2 separate regions of the Homo sapiens genome follow, and region 2 is linked to region 1. The links are contacts of gene promoters, found by promoter capture Hi-C in human tissues and cell types (Jung and others, 2019). All regions are on one chromosome and are shown on one strand. The core of a region is centred on a gene start or on the middle of the fragment in contact, and the rest is flanking DNA. Distances in the headings are between cores, read along the strand shown.

Evidence for each region. The method cuts DNA at HindIII sites, captures the fragments that hold promoters and counts their contacts. A contact is called where the count stands out against the background at its distance.
Region 2: a contact is called between a fragment that was not itself captured here and the fragment with the promoter of SEH1L in region 1, in 1 of the 25 tissues and cell types used here (dorsolateral prefrontal cortex).

The regions. Positions count from the first base shown.
Region 1 is chr18:12,945,025-12,951,420 of GRCh38, forward strand. SEH1L (SEH1 like nucleoporin) reads left to right here and starts at 2,987. Exons shown (of 9, transcript NM_001013437.2): 1 at 2,987-3,208. The coding sequence starts at 3,098. RefSeq lists silencers at 2,685-3,134, 3,175-3,524, 3,535-3,634 and an enhancer at 3,566-4,167. The HindIII fragment of the contact is 16,054 bases long and covers 1,470-6,396 here.
Region 2 is chr18:14,072,425-14,079,261 of GRCh38, forward strand. It overlaps a transcript of ZNF519 not described here and the pseudogene VN1R73P. Among named protein-coding and RNA genes, the nearest start is that of ZNF519, 57 kb to the right of the region's middle. The HindIII fragment of the contact is 5,999 bases long and covers 1,668-6,837 here.

The sequences.
Region 1 (6,396 bases), core at 1,737-4,236:
TGGTAGCACTGGGTAAAACTATTTTCCCTTTCACGCTCCCAGCCCAGAGTTTCCCGTAGTTACTAGTCTCTGGGTAATCTCACATGTTCCCTTTTTGCTCTTAATTAACCCCTTGGATATATATGTAACCAGTTTCCTGTGTTAAATTCTCTCTCTCTTTTTTTTTTTTTTTTGAGATAGTGTCTCCCTGCGTTGCCCAGGATGGAGTCCTGTGGCACAATCTCGGTTCCACCACCACTCCTGGGGCATTTTTTTGTATTTTTATTTTGTATTTTTAGTAGAGAAGCGGGTCTCGCCACGTTGCCCAGGCTGGTCTTGAACTCCTGAGCTCAGATAATCTGCCCGTCTCGGCCTCCCAAAGTGCTGGATTACAGGGTAATTTAGCCACCAGGCCTGGCTGACACGACCACTTTGGAAGACAGTTTGTAAGTTTCTTATAAAACCAGGCCAGGCACAGTGGCTCATGCCTGTAATCCAAGCACTTTGGGAGGCCAAGGCAAGAGGATCGCTTGAGCCCAAGAGTTTGAGACCAGCCTGCTCAACATGGTGAAACCCCATCTCTGCAAAAAACAGAAAAATTAGCTGGGTGTGGTGGCACTGTGCCTGTAGTCCCAGCTGCTCGGGAGGCTGAGGTGGGAGGATCATCTGAACCCAGGGAATTTAAAGCTGCAGTGAGCCACGATTGTCTGCCATGACAGAGTGAGACCCTGTCTCAAAAAACAAAACAAAACCCCAAAAAACAAAACTAAACTTACTCTTACAATATGATCCAGCAATCATGCTTCTTGGTATCTACCCAAAGGAGTTGCGAACATGTCCACACAAAAACCTGTACACAGATGTTTGTAGGAGCTTTATTGATAATTGCCCAAACACAGAAACAACCAGAATGCCCTTTAGTTGGGGAATGAATAAACACTGTTACAGCCTGACAATGGAATATTATTCAGCACTAAAAAGAAATGAACTCTCAAGACAAGACATGGAGAAAGCTTAAATGCATATTACTATAAGGAAAGAAGCCAATCTGAAAAGGCTAGCCACTCCAAGATTCCCATTATATGCCATTCTGGAAAAGTCAAAACCATGCAGTCAGTGGAAAGATCAGCGGTTGCCAGGTGTTGTCGGAAGAAAGGGATGAACAGGAGCACTAAGGATTTTCAGGGCAGTCAAACTATTCCGCGTGATACTATAATGGTGGATCCATGTCATTATATATTTGCCAAAACCCACAGAATAAAACACCAAGAGTGAACCCTAATGCAAACTCTGAATTTTGGGTGATAATGATGTGTCAATGTAGGTTCACTGATCATAACAAAGGTACCACTTTGGTATGGGATGTTGACAGTGGAGGATGCTGTGCATGTGTGACAGTAGGGGTACATACGGGAACTCTATTTTCTGCTCAATTTTGCTGTGAACCTGAAAGTGTTCTAAAAACTAAAGTCTATTTTAAAAAATCCACTGTTTCACCTAATTCAACACTTCACTCCCACTCTGATAATCTCTGGCAACCAATGATCTGTTTACTGTCTGTATTTAAATTTAATTAAAACAATTTTTAAACTGTTTTGATATTTTTATAATAATCAATATATTTTGATTGGACTTTTATAGTGAGCACTTTCTTTGGAAATGAGTGTCTTTGACCTTCAAAAAAGTTATAGTTGTTATCAGTTATCATAAGAGGTGGGGCCCACCTCTTAAAGTAGCAATAAAATCTTATTTATGGTTGAAAAAGGTCAGGTCATTGCGCCACTTCTCTTTGCAGGTTTCTGTGCAATCCATCAGGGGACAGCTGGGACTAATCATTTAAAAAACTTTCCAGCCTGCTAATTTTACCATACCTCACATTTTTGTCATTCCTGGCCAAAATCCAAAGGGCAAGTCCCTTCTGCAGCCTCATTTTTTTTTTTTCTGTACTTTCGCTCCCCTGACGCAAGCTTCCACTGTCTCCCATCCTAACTTTACCACTACGCCCTCTAGAATGCCTTTTCCTGATAAGCAAAACCCCCCGAGTCGTTGGCTCCTCCACTTTCCGGTTTTGGCAGAATCCTTGATCTGAGCCAGGCCTCTTCCCAGGGGCTCTGGCCCTCTTCACTTCCTTTTCCCCGGAGGACTCTGGCTCCCGGGTAGCAAGCAGCCCACTTCCCCGGCCGCTTCCTTCCCCCGGGATGACACGTTTCTACAGGCGGACTCTTCTAATTCATACTATTTCCCTACCCCCGTGGTGGCTCCTAGCACCCCCAGGCCTGTTCTACCTGTAAAATCTTGACACATTTAAACTACTACTTCTGATCCTTTCCTCCCCGTCCAGCCTTCGCTCTTAGGCTGCCGAGCCTGGACTGCTTGTCATCCCCTCAGGCGTCTCCCCGGCCCTCCCTGCTCTTCAGCCGTCCCGACGGAGCGCGGCTCCTGACCAAACCCACGGTTCGTCTTCTCCACCTGCTCCGCGCGCCTCGCATGTGTCTGGGGGGAAACACATCCAAACGTCGACTTAAATGATTCAGGGCCGAGGACCGTGAGAGGCAGTCTTCACTTTTTCATCTTTCTTCATTTGCACAGTATACCAATAAGCTCTTACTACTTCTCAGCACAGGTAACTCGCCTTTTGCAGAGCACCCTCCGCCGCCGAACGGTCAGAGCCTGGAGGAACCCGCACCAGGATCGTAGGGCATGACGGGCCGGGGGCGGGACGAGGATTGACGAGCCGGGAACAGGGCGGGGCTTGAGGGGGCGGGAGGGTGGGGCGAGGCATGACGGCTCTGGTGGGAGGGTAGGCGGGGCTTGACGGGCCTGGGGGCGGGGCGGGGCTTGAGGGACCGGAAGGTGGGGCGAGTCATGACGGGCCGGGGCGTGGGCAGGGCTTGAGGGGCCAGGGGACTGTGTGGGGCCTGACGGGCCGGTGGGTGGGGCGGGGCTTGAAGGACCGGAGGGTGTGTGGGCGGGGCTTGATAGGCAGGGGCGGTGCGGGGGCGTGGGCAGCACAAGCCGTGCGCTCCCGGGCTGCGAGGTCTGGCTAGGCTACGGGCCACGCGCCGCCGCCGCTGCCGCCGCCACTGTCCTCTTCGGAGGCGCGGGCCCGACGGAAACCATGTTTGTGGCTCGCAGCATCGCGGCGGACCACAAGGATCTCATCCACGATGTCTCTTTCGACTTCCACGGGCGGCGGATGGCAACCTGCTCCAGCGATCAGAGCGTTAAGGTGCGCGCGGCGCTTGCGGGCGGGGCCGACCCCGGAAGGAAGGAAGGGGAGTGGGTGGGCGGCGCGGGGAACGGGGCTGTGTCTTGGTTCAGTGACGCCGCTGGAAGCTGTGGGGTGGCGGGCGAGCCCTGGCTGGACTGAGCGGAAGCCCTCCCCGCCCGCGTATTGTGGGGTCACGGCGGCCTCGCGGGCCGCCCTCCCGTGCGCCTGCGCAGCTGGTGCCACGTGCGCGCTCCCGCCCGCAGGGTACGCCGGGCCCTCTCCCAGGCCGCGCTGCCGGGGCTGCGGGCGGGAACCCAGGGGCATCCCACCGTCAGCCTCGGCGTCGTGGGTCTTGCCCGCGCTGTTCACCCGACGACCTGCAGTGGGACCTGGTGGGAGACTTTGCCTGGCTGGCGCTGCGTCGAGTTCTGTGCCCCGCCGGTGTTCTCTCACCAGGGCACATGGTTTTCTCCGTGGGTTCAGAGCAGAAGCTCACTTTGTTACGCCGAGGAAGAAAAATACAAACCATTTACATCCAATGATTTCCCTGCTTGCTGCCCAGGAATCGGAGGGTTTGTTTCTTGAAGTTCCCGTAAACGTCTGTAGACACTTCCGACAAGCAGAATTTCTTTTCTTTTTTTTTTTTTTTTTTTGAGACCGAGTCTCACTCTGTCACCCAGGCTGGAGTGCAATGGCACGATCTCGGCTCACTGCAACGTCCGCCTCCCGCTTTCAGGCGATTATCCTGCCCCAGCCTCCCAAGTAGCAGGGATTACAGGTGCACGCCACCACCCCCGGCTAATCTTTTTTTTTTTTTGTATTTTTTAGTAGAGACAGAGTTTCACCATGTGGGCCAGGCTGGTCTCGAACTCCTGACCTCGTGATCCACCCGCCTCGGCGCCTCGGCCTCCCAAAGTGCTGGGATTACAGGCGTGAGCCACCGCGCCCGGCCTACAAGCAGAATTTCTAATGTGGGGATGCTACATGAGATTTAGGAACCTCCCAGATGTGTTGCAGGATGAATGAAAGCTGGAGTGCGGATTATTTGGTTCTCGACAACTCCAGAGTAACTGGAAATCTGAAGGATAGTTTATCCTTTTTCACATTCGAGTTTGATACCAGTGATCTCTCAAAGATAAACTTTTTATAAATAGTGTTGCAATTTTTAAAAGATGTAGTTTCTTTTTTAAAACAAGTTTATTTTTGTTGTAATAAACTACGTTAACCGTTTTTTTTTTTTTTTTTTTTTTTTTTTTGAGACGGAGTCTTGCTCTGTCACCCAGGCTGGAGTGGGGTGGCGCAATCTTGGCTCACTGCAAGCTCCGCCTCCCGGGTTCACGCCATTCTCCTGCCTCAGCCTCCCAAGTAGCTGGGACTACAGGCGCCCGCCACCACGCCCGGCTAATTTTTTGTATTTTTTAGTAGAGACAGGGTTTCACCATGTTAGCCAGGATGGTCTCTATCTCCTGACCTCGTGATCCGCCCACCTCGGCCTCCCAAAGTGCTAGGATTACGGGCGTGAGCCACCGCGCCCGGCCCACGTTAACCGTTTTAAAGTGTAGAATTCAGTGGCATAGAGCACAGCATTCACATTTTTGTGCAGCGTCGCCCCTGCCCATCTCCAGAACCTTTTCATCATCCTAAACTGAAACTCTGTACCCAAGAGCACCCTGTTCCGCCACCCCATCCTCTGGTAACCTCTATTCTACTGCTTTCTATTAATTTGCATATTCTAGGTACCTCAGATAAATAGAATCATAGAATATTCGCCCTTTTATATTTGGTTTATTTCACTTAGTATAATTTTTTTTTTCTTTTTTCTTTTTCCTTTTTTTTTGAGGCAGAGTCTGGCTCTGTCACCCAGGCTGGAGTGCAGTGGTGCGATCTTGGCTTGTTGCAGCCTCAACATCCCAGGTTCAAGCCATCCTCCCACCTTAGCCTCTCCAGTAGCTGGGACTACGAGTGCACGCCACCACGCCTGGCCAATTAAAACATTTTTTTTGTAGAGGCAGGGTCTTGCTGCGTTGCCCAGGCTAGTCTCGAACTCCTGAGCTCAAGTGATCCTCTCACCTCAGCCTCCCAGAGTGCTGGGATTACAGGTGTGAGTCACCTTGCCCAGCCCTCTTAGGTCCATTTATTCCAGAGTACTTTTTTTTTAAAGGAGGAGCCATGTATTTATTTGTATATATTTTTAATTGAGCAAGTAATATATTTTTCTTTTTAGAAAGTGAAAAAATTATAGACTTATTGCTAATGTGTTAATATTTATTGATTTCCTCTGTTTTTCCTTTAACGTTTTAAGTTGTCATGGTAGAGTGTGTGTATATACGTATATGTCTTGTCAGAAATAGTGTTGTACTGAAATTTTTCATTAGTTTAGCATTTTATGTATTTTGAATGATTTTCTTAGGCTAATTCTAGAAGATAAATTAGTGGATATTTTAAACACTATTGAAGAGAATTGACAAATTGCTATTTTGCAGGTCGTACCGTTTTATACCGCCAGTGATAGTATTGATTTGATAGTGTTATTGCCCTCGTTACATTTTTAACAGGTGAAATTGGCACCTTCTTATTGTAATCTATATTTTTTCTGGGTAATAAGGTTTAATTTTTTTGTTTTGAGATGGAGTCTTGCCATGTTGCCCAGGCTGGAGTGCAGTGGCTATTCACGGGCGTGATCATAGCCTTAAACTCCTGGGCTCAAGTAATCCCTCCTGCCTCAGCCTCTTGAGTAGCTGGGACTACAGGTGTGCACCACCATGCCTGGTTTCAATATTTTTGCTTTACCATTTGTTACATGTACAGTTGAGCCTGTTGTTTGTAGATTCTGTATTTTTTGAATTTGTCTACTCTGAAATTTACTTGTACCCCAAAAGTCACACTGGTTTTGCAGTCATTTGTGCATGTGTGAGGAGTGGTGAAAAAGTTTGAGTCTCAGGACAGACGTTTCCCATTGAGGTGAAACCAGGCGATACTCTATTTTGGCTCATACTGTAAGCAGGTGTTTTTCATGATTTATTTAGTGCAATGATTATTTGTTCTTTCTGTTGGTGATTTTGCTGTTTAAAATGGCCTCCAAGCGTAGTGACTGTAACTAATTGTCTCTGTTACCTAATAGAGCTCAGCTTCCTGAATCCCTTGGTGCTTGGCCCAGTGCTTGACACATTCAAGGTTCTCAATGTAAATTTTTTGAGACGGAGTCT
Region 2 (6,837 bases), core at 3,417-5,916, 1.1 Mb after region 1:
GTGGTGACTGAGTGTTGGCACTAGTGTCAGTTCATATCTAAATATTCCTACATATGTAATGTACTTTCATATTTTTTTTGACAACACTTGTCTAGGGAATATTTCAACTCTACTCTGTGCTTTTGGGATTCAATGGGAATCCCCTTTCAGATGGTCAACAGTGTGAGCCTTATTGATTGACCTTTTTGCCCTCTTCCCTGAAATATATTCTCTAGGTTTAATCTGTGGAATTAGATTTTAAGTCACATTTTCTTGCGTAAATGTATGAAAGCAGGAAAACCGGCTGTTGCTCATATTAACAGCATTTTTTTCACATAGTGTAAGAAAAACAGTGGTCTTATTCACCAGACCAATCTTGTATTCCCGCTGGTCTCACAGTTCAAGACTCCCTTCCCCAGGCTTTTTGTTCTGAGGTCTGGCCATACAAGCATCCTAGCTGAGTGGGTGGAAACGACATTTACCTGGTACAGGCCTGACCTGTGAAAACACCCTCTGTGAAGCCCCAAATATTTTTTGCCATACAACTGCATGAAATTTTCCCAAGCACCATAGCCAGATTTGAAGACACAGGTTAGCAATGAGAAATACACCAATAGAAGGTATGGGGGTCCCTAAATCCATATTTGGAGGAAAATCCACAAGCAGAGTCACATGACATTTGAAAGCCTGTGTTGAGGTGGTATATGCCAGCAATGATAAATATTACATGATGATCAAACTGCTGATAAATTCAGGTTTGTCTATTACAACAGCTAATTTTACGTTAACTGTAACAAAAATATATTGAAGAAAAGTTTGCATGGAAATTTTTATTTTTATATTTATTTATTTATTTATTTATTTATTTATTTATTTATTTATTTTGAGATGGAGTCTCACTCTGTCGCCCAGGCTGGAGTGCAGTGGCACAATCTCGGCTCACTGCAACCTCCGCCTCCTGGGTTCAAGCAATTCTCCTATCTCAGCCTCTCAAGTAGCTGGGACTACAGGCACTTGCCATCACGCCCAGCTAATGTTTGCATTTTTAGTAGAGGCAAGGTTTCACCATATTGGTCAGGCTGGTCTTGAACTTCTGACCTCAGGTGATCTGCCTGCCTTGGCCTCCCAAAGTGCTGGGATTATAGGTGTGAGCCACTGCACCTGGCCTGGACAATTTTTATTCAAATTCTGTGTACAACAAACATTTCCTGAGTATTTCAAAAGGCGAAGGAAAATATAAACCATACAGTTATTCATATAAGAAACCTGTATCATGATCTTCACTCTGTTTTTGAAATTCATGATGTATAATATACTTAAATATCTTCCCATGATTTTGCTTTCAGATATTTTACCAGTACAAAAATATGAATGTAGATTATTTTGTTTAGCAGTATTTATAAGAAAGTGTCATGAGTATTCCTATTTTATAATTTGCCTTTTGCAACTGTTAAATGAGAGGAAACAAAAGCACACTTCACTTTCCTTTCTCGAAGGCAAACCAGCTGTATTTCACTCCCTCGAATAGCTACTAATTTCTTGAAAATACTTCTGGAGAGCTCTCCCCAAATAGGGACAAGCCAGAAGATTTTTCACTTTCATCTGCTCTGCTCATTTGTGACTGTGATCAAACCTAGAAGATTTAGAAAGGAAGATTCCATCTCAAACAGCCCTGTAGTCATCTGTGTCCTGCAGGATGAAGCTCTGCAGCAGAGTCTGAGGATAGAAGTGTAGACTGCATCATTCAGATGTTTTTTTCAATTTTTGAAAGAAACTGGAAGAAGGTCCTATCACACAGGCATGACTGAGAAAGAATCCTTTTGTGATGCTCCCGTGGATTTGACGCATGTTCAGCCAAAGGAGCAGACAGATCAAGAAATTGAGAATTTCAGGATTCGGTAGGAGGTCTAGCAGGGGGCACTGGGAAACAACTAAGTATTGAGCTCTGAGTGTCCTGCACTGCACCCTGATGGCCAGCAGGGAGTGATGGAGCCCTCCTTTTCTGCTCCATGTGGCCCGAATGCATATCTGGCGCTCTCAGGAGGACTTCAGGAGGTATTGATTTAAAAAATGAATGCCTTTAACAGCACCCAAGTCACCTCTTGAATGCTTTGCTGCTTAGAAATTTCTTCTGCCAGATACCCTAAATCATCTCTCTCAAGTTCAAAGTTCCACAAATCTCTAGGGCAGGGGCAAAATACCATCAGTCTCTTTGCTAAAACATAACGAGAGTCACCTTTGCTCCAGTTTCCAACAAGTTCCTCATCTCCATCTGAGACCACCTTAGCCTGGACTTTATTGCTATCAGCATTTTGGGTAAAACCATTCAACAAGTCTCTAGGAAGTTCCAAACTTTCCCACATTTTCCTTTCTTCTTTTGAGCCATCTCAAGTATTCCAACCTTTCCCTGTTACCCAGTTCCAAAGTCGCTTCCAAATTTTTGGGTATCTTTTCAGCAGCACCCCACTCTACTGATACCACTTTGCTGTATTAGTCCATTTTTTTTCACATTGCTGATAAAGACATACCCAAGACTGGGAAGAAAAAAAGGTTTAACAAACTTTCAGTTCCACATGGTTGGGGAGGCCTCACAATCATGGCGGAAGGTAAGCAGGAGCAAGTCAGGTCTTACATGGATGGGAGCAGGCAAAGAGAGAGCTTGTACAGGGAAACTCCTGTTTTTAAAACCATCAGGTCTCATGAGACTCATTCACCATCCCGAGAACAATACAGAAAAGACCTGCCCCCATAATTCAATCACCTCCCACCAAGTTCCTCCCACAACACATAGGAATTCAAGATGAGGTTTGAGTGGGGACATAGCCAAACCATATCAGTTATTAACTACTGCAGAACAGTAACCAAATCCTTCTTTGTGTTGTTTTCGCCATTCCACTTGCCAGTCACGTGCGGTTACCAGCATATCACAATCCAGCAGAGGATGTTGGAGCACCCATTCTATTTGGGAGCTTGTAGTTTCAGGTCTGCCCAGCAGGAGTACATGGGGCTGACTGTGATGGCCTAGAAGATATTCAAAAGGCAAGTGGTGCCAATGCACACAGCCCTGCCCACTTTGTGAACATAGAAAACAAGTTTGTACCTAATTATGATTGAGAAAATGTTTCAACCCAAAAGCAGGCATTCTCTGTGGGGCTCCTTTATAAAGTATCACAAAGGAGGTGGCTACAGCCAGGTGTTTGAGAATCAGATCTGTAGACCTTAATGTGCATTTGGTGAAATAAAGAGAAATACAATGCTAAAGAAAAAATATTTTCATCAGGAACCCAATTATGGTCTGAGATAAGATTATTCCTATTGCCACATCCCTAGAGGACATTTGTTCTTTTCCAGTGACTGATACTTCTATTCATATTCAGAGTTAGAGGATCCTGAAGGGAAACATGAGGTCTATTTTATTTTGGCAACTGAAATTCAATATTGTCCACAGACCATTGTTTTCAACTCATAACGTTCTTATTAAATTCCATTTTCTATTGCTGAACTACACACCACACACCACACACCACACACACACATATTTACTGTGAGTACTATATTCATATTTTACATAGAACATTTACAATGATTCTACAAAGTAAGCAATTTATTATTATTTTTTTTTTTACAGGTGAGGGGAACTTAGGTGTAGAAAGGCTAAATAACAGCTAAATAACATCTAAAGCCCCCTCCTTCCTTGTAAGAGGCAGAGTCCGGAGCTGACAATGTGCTTAACCACTATGTGCCTCAACCTTGGACCTAGTCAGTCTTTTCTAAAACTCCACATATATTTCATTTTCTTTTTTTTGTAGATTTTGTCAGGTTTTTAAAAATGGTTGTATATTTATAAAATATGATTGTGGTAATCTCTTATTTAAATATCATTGCTTAATTTATAGGCAAATATCACTTATGATTCAGAGATCCAAATACAATGAAGATGCCTTAATTCCACAGATGCCAAATGAAATTTATGGAATGCAGAAATGATTTCATACTGGAATTAAGAGTCTTTTCATCATAACCAAGAAATAGGGCACAGTGGAATGACAGTGCTGTAATCCAGGGGACATAAAACATGAGTAGGCAATAAAATATTGCAGAGGAGAAACTACATCACCATTAATATATGGAGAAAATTAGTATTTGTGGATGCAAAAATATAAAATAAAATTATTTCAATGTCAGAATTGTTTAACATATTAAAACATGAGCCCACTATGTAAAAGGGAAACTGGAGGCAGGAAAAATTATTCACGGAATCAATTTAAATTGTACTAAGATAAGCACTGAACCTGGTAATGGCCTTAGAAGATTTTAAAAACAGAGCAAATATCACAAACAATTCAATTCAGAAAACTGCCGAAGATCTTGACCTTTTTTAAAAATACAAAAATCTACAGAAAAGTTACCCTTCTTTACTGACTTCATGAAGGAAAGCAGTCTCACCATAAGGAGTAGACAATGCATGTTTTCAGTCACCACACAGCTATGGTCTCCATTAAGTATATAATATGTCCAGAGTGGTTAAACTCCATAGTTACTACTTCTGAACAGAATAAGGTAATTCAATTGGTGAACTCTTACACACTATCGAAGGCATGAAGGTGTTGTAGAAACACCTCTACTAATCCTGAAAATGTCCCCGACTCTTCTAGAAAAAAAATAAAGCAGCTGGGAAATTAATTCCAAATTACACTAGAGAACTGGGAAAAAACAGATTTCATGGCCATCAAAAGCAATAATGACAAACAGTGAGGATTACATTAAATTAGAAGCAGTTAGGGACTGGTTTGTGACCTTGCCCTCCATTTCTTTTCCACAAGTTCAGCCCGTGGCTCACTGATTATTTCCTCCTTCCTGCATGGCTTTAGCACTGGCTCAGTTTCTAGCCCCAAAGAAGACCTTCTCCAGACAGGAATACTTACTGTACCTCCCAATATACTTCCTTCCCTTGCAGACTTTGCCTTCTGAACTACTCGTTTGATTTTTTTTGCTGCAGGGCTGGTGGGCTTGAAGTGATGGTCAGGACAGCCAGAGTGTGTGGGAGGAGGCAGGCGGTTCTGAGATATGGGTTCGAGATCTTGTGACATCATCTCCCCTCGAAACTGCAATAATCATTTCACCTGTAGCAACAATGACAGTACACACTTGGGGAGCTGAAGATAGTTTGAAAACCATTTTCCCAGTTACTGTTTACCAAAAACAATTACAACTTTCTAGTGAGTGCCTCCAGAGAGATGTGAGTGTTTTGGAGAGGTTCTTCTTTTCCAGGACCCCTGGAGGGACAGGACTCATGTAGATGGAGCAGGAAATGCTGAGATCTGGGACATGAGGGACTGACCACAAGGCAGTGTGTCTTACTGGATTCTATGCTTCCTTGATGTGTTCCCTGCTGAAAATCTAATTTTCTGTTATTCCCCAAATTCCTGAGCCAAACTATTATTTAATTATGAATAAAGAAATGGGATCATACAATAGACTGGTAAAGAATGTATCAATAGGTTACGGTGCAAATAGGCAGTCGTCCCCAACCTTTTTGGCACCTGGGACCCGTTCCATGGATGGGAAGACAATTTTTCCATGGACAGGATCAGGTGTTGTTGCGGAGATGGTTTCGGGATAAAACTGTTCCACCTCAGATGATCAGGCATTACAGTCTCATAAGGAGTGTGCAACCTAGATCCCTCACATGAGCAGTTCACAATAGGGTTTGCTGCTTCTGTGAGAATCTAATGCCACTGCTGATCTGAAAGGAGGCAGAGCCCAGGCAGCAATGCTCGCTCTCCAACCACTCACCTCCTGCTGTGCGGCCAGTTTCCTAACAGGCCATGGACAGGTACTGGTCTGCAGCCTGGGGGTTGAGGACTTCTGCACATAGGAGCCTGAAGTCATGTACTGATACAAAAAATTAATAGGGGAGAAGCTGTATAATTCAATGCAAATTAACATGTACATGTACATTATATATATTCTAAGAATACATATTTTATCAATTTACTGCTGTAGAGACTCCAAACTGCACAATATTTACAGAAAAAAATAGACATTTATCAAATAGTCCCTTTCACACAAAAATGTACCATGTTCATATGATCCAGAGATAAATTTTACTAATAAACAAATGCTAACTAAATTATTCAAGAGTTTTAAAGAATAATTTTTAGGAAGACTACATAAGGGTGATATGACAGCTTTGCCTGGGTTAAGTCAAATAGAGTATTTCAGATGTATTGAACATATGAATATAATTGTGAAAGTTTTAAATATTAGAAACCATTGTGTTAGAACATTAAACATTATATTATTATCAACTGGCCTTTATGCCAAGAATGCAAGTAGATTCAGCATTTGGAAATCCATCAATAGAATTAATCAAATTAATAAAAAAAATCCTTGATTATGAGAAACAAAGATGGTCTTTTTCAGAGGAAGTACTAAAATAAAAGCTAATAGATGTTCTATGTGACTGAAACTTTTTATGTGTAAAAAGTTTTCCTTCAAGGTAAAGATGAAGAAGCACTATCTGGCTAACTTCAAGATGTACAAAACCCAAAGCCAATTAAGAGGCAGAGCCAAACAGCAGAAGCACCAGTATCCTTGGCATAAGCTGGCAGATTTTGGTGGAAGTGACAGGCACCCTGGAATAAAAAAAGGGGTTGCCTCCGACACAGTTGCCAATTCTTGAATTTCACAATTTTCCTTTGGTGTTTGTATCTTTCTATGGCCCTCCTGTTTGTGATCAGACATGTGGCCCACAGAGGTGACTTGTCTACAGAATATGGCATTCATCATTGTCCACTCCTCAGCACAGGAGGGAGACCTGTAGTCCAATAAATATTCTTATCAGTTGAAAAGAAC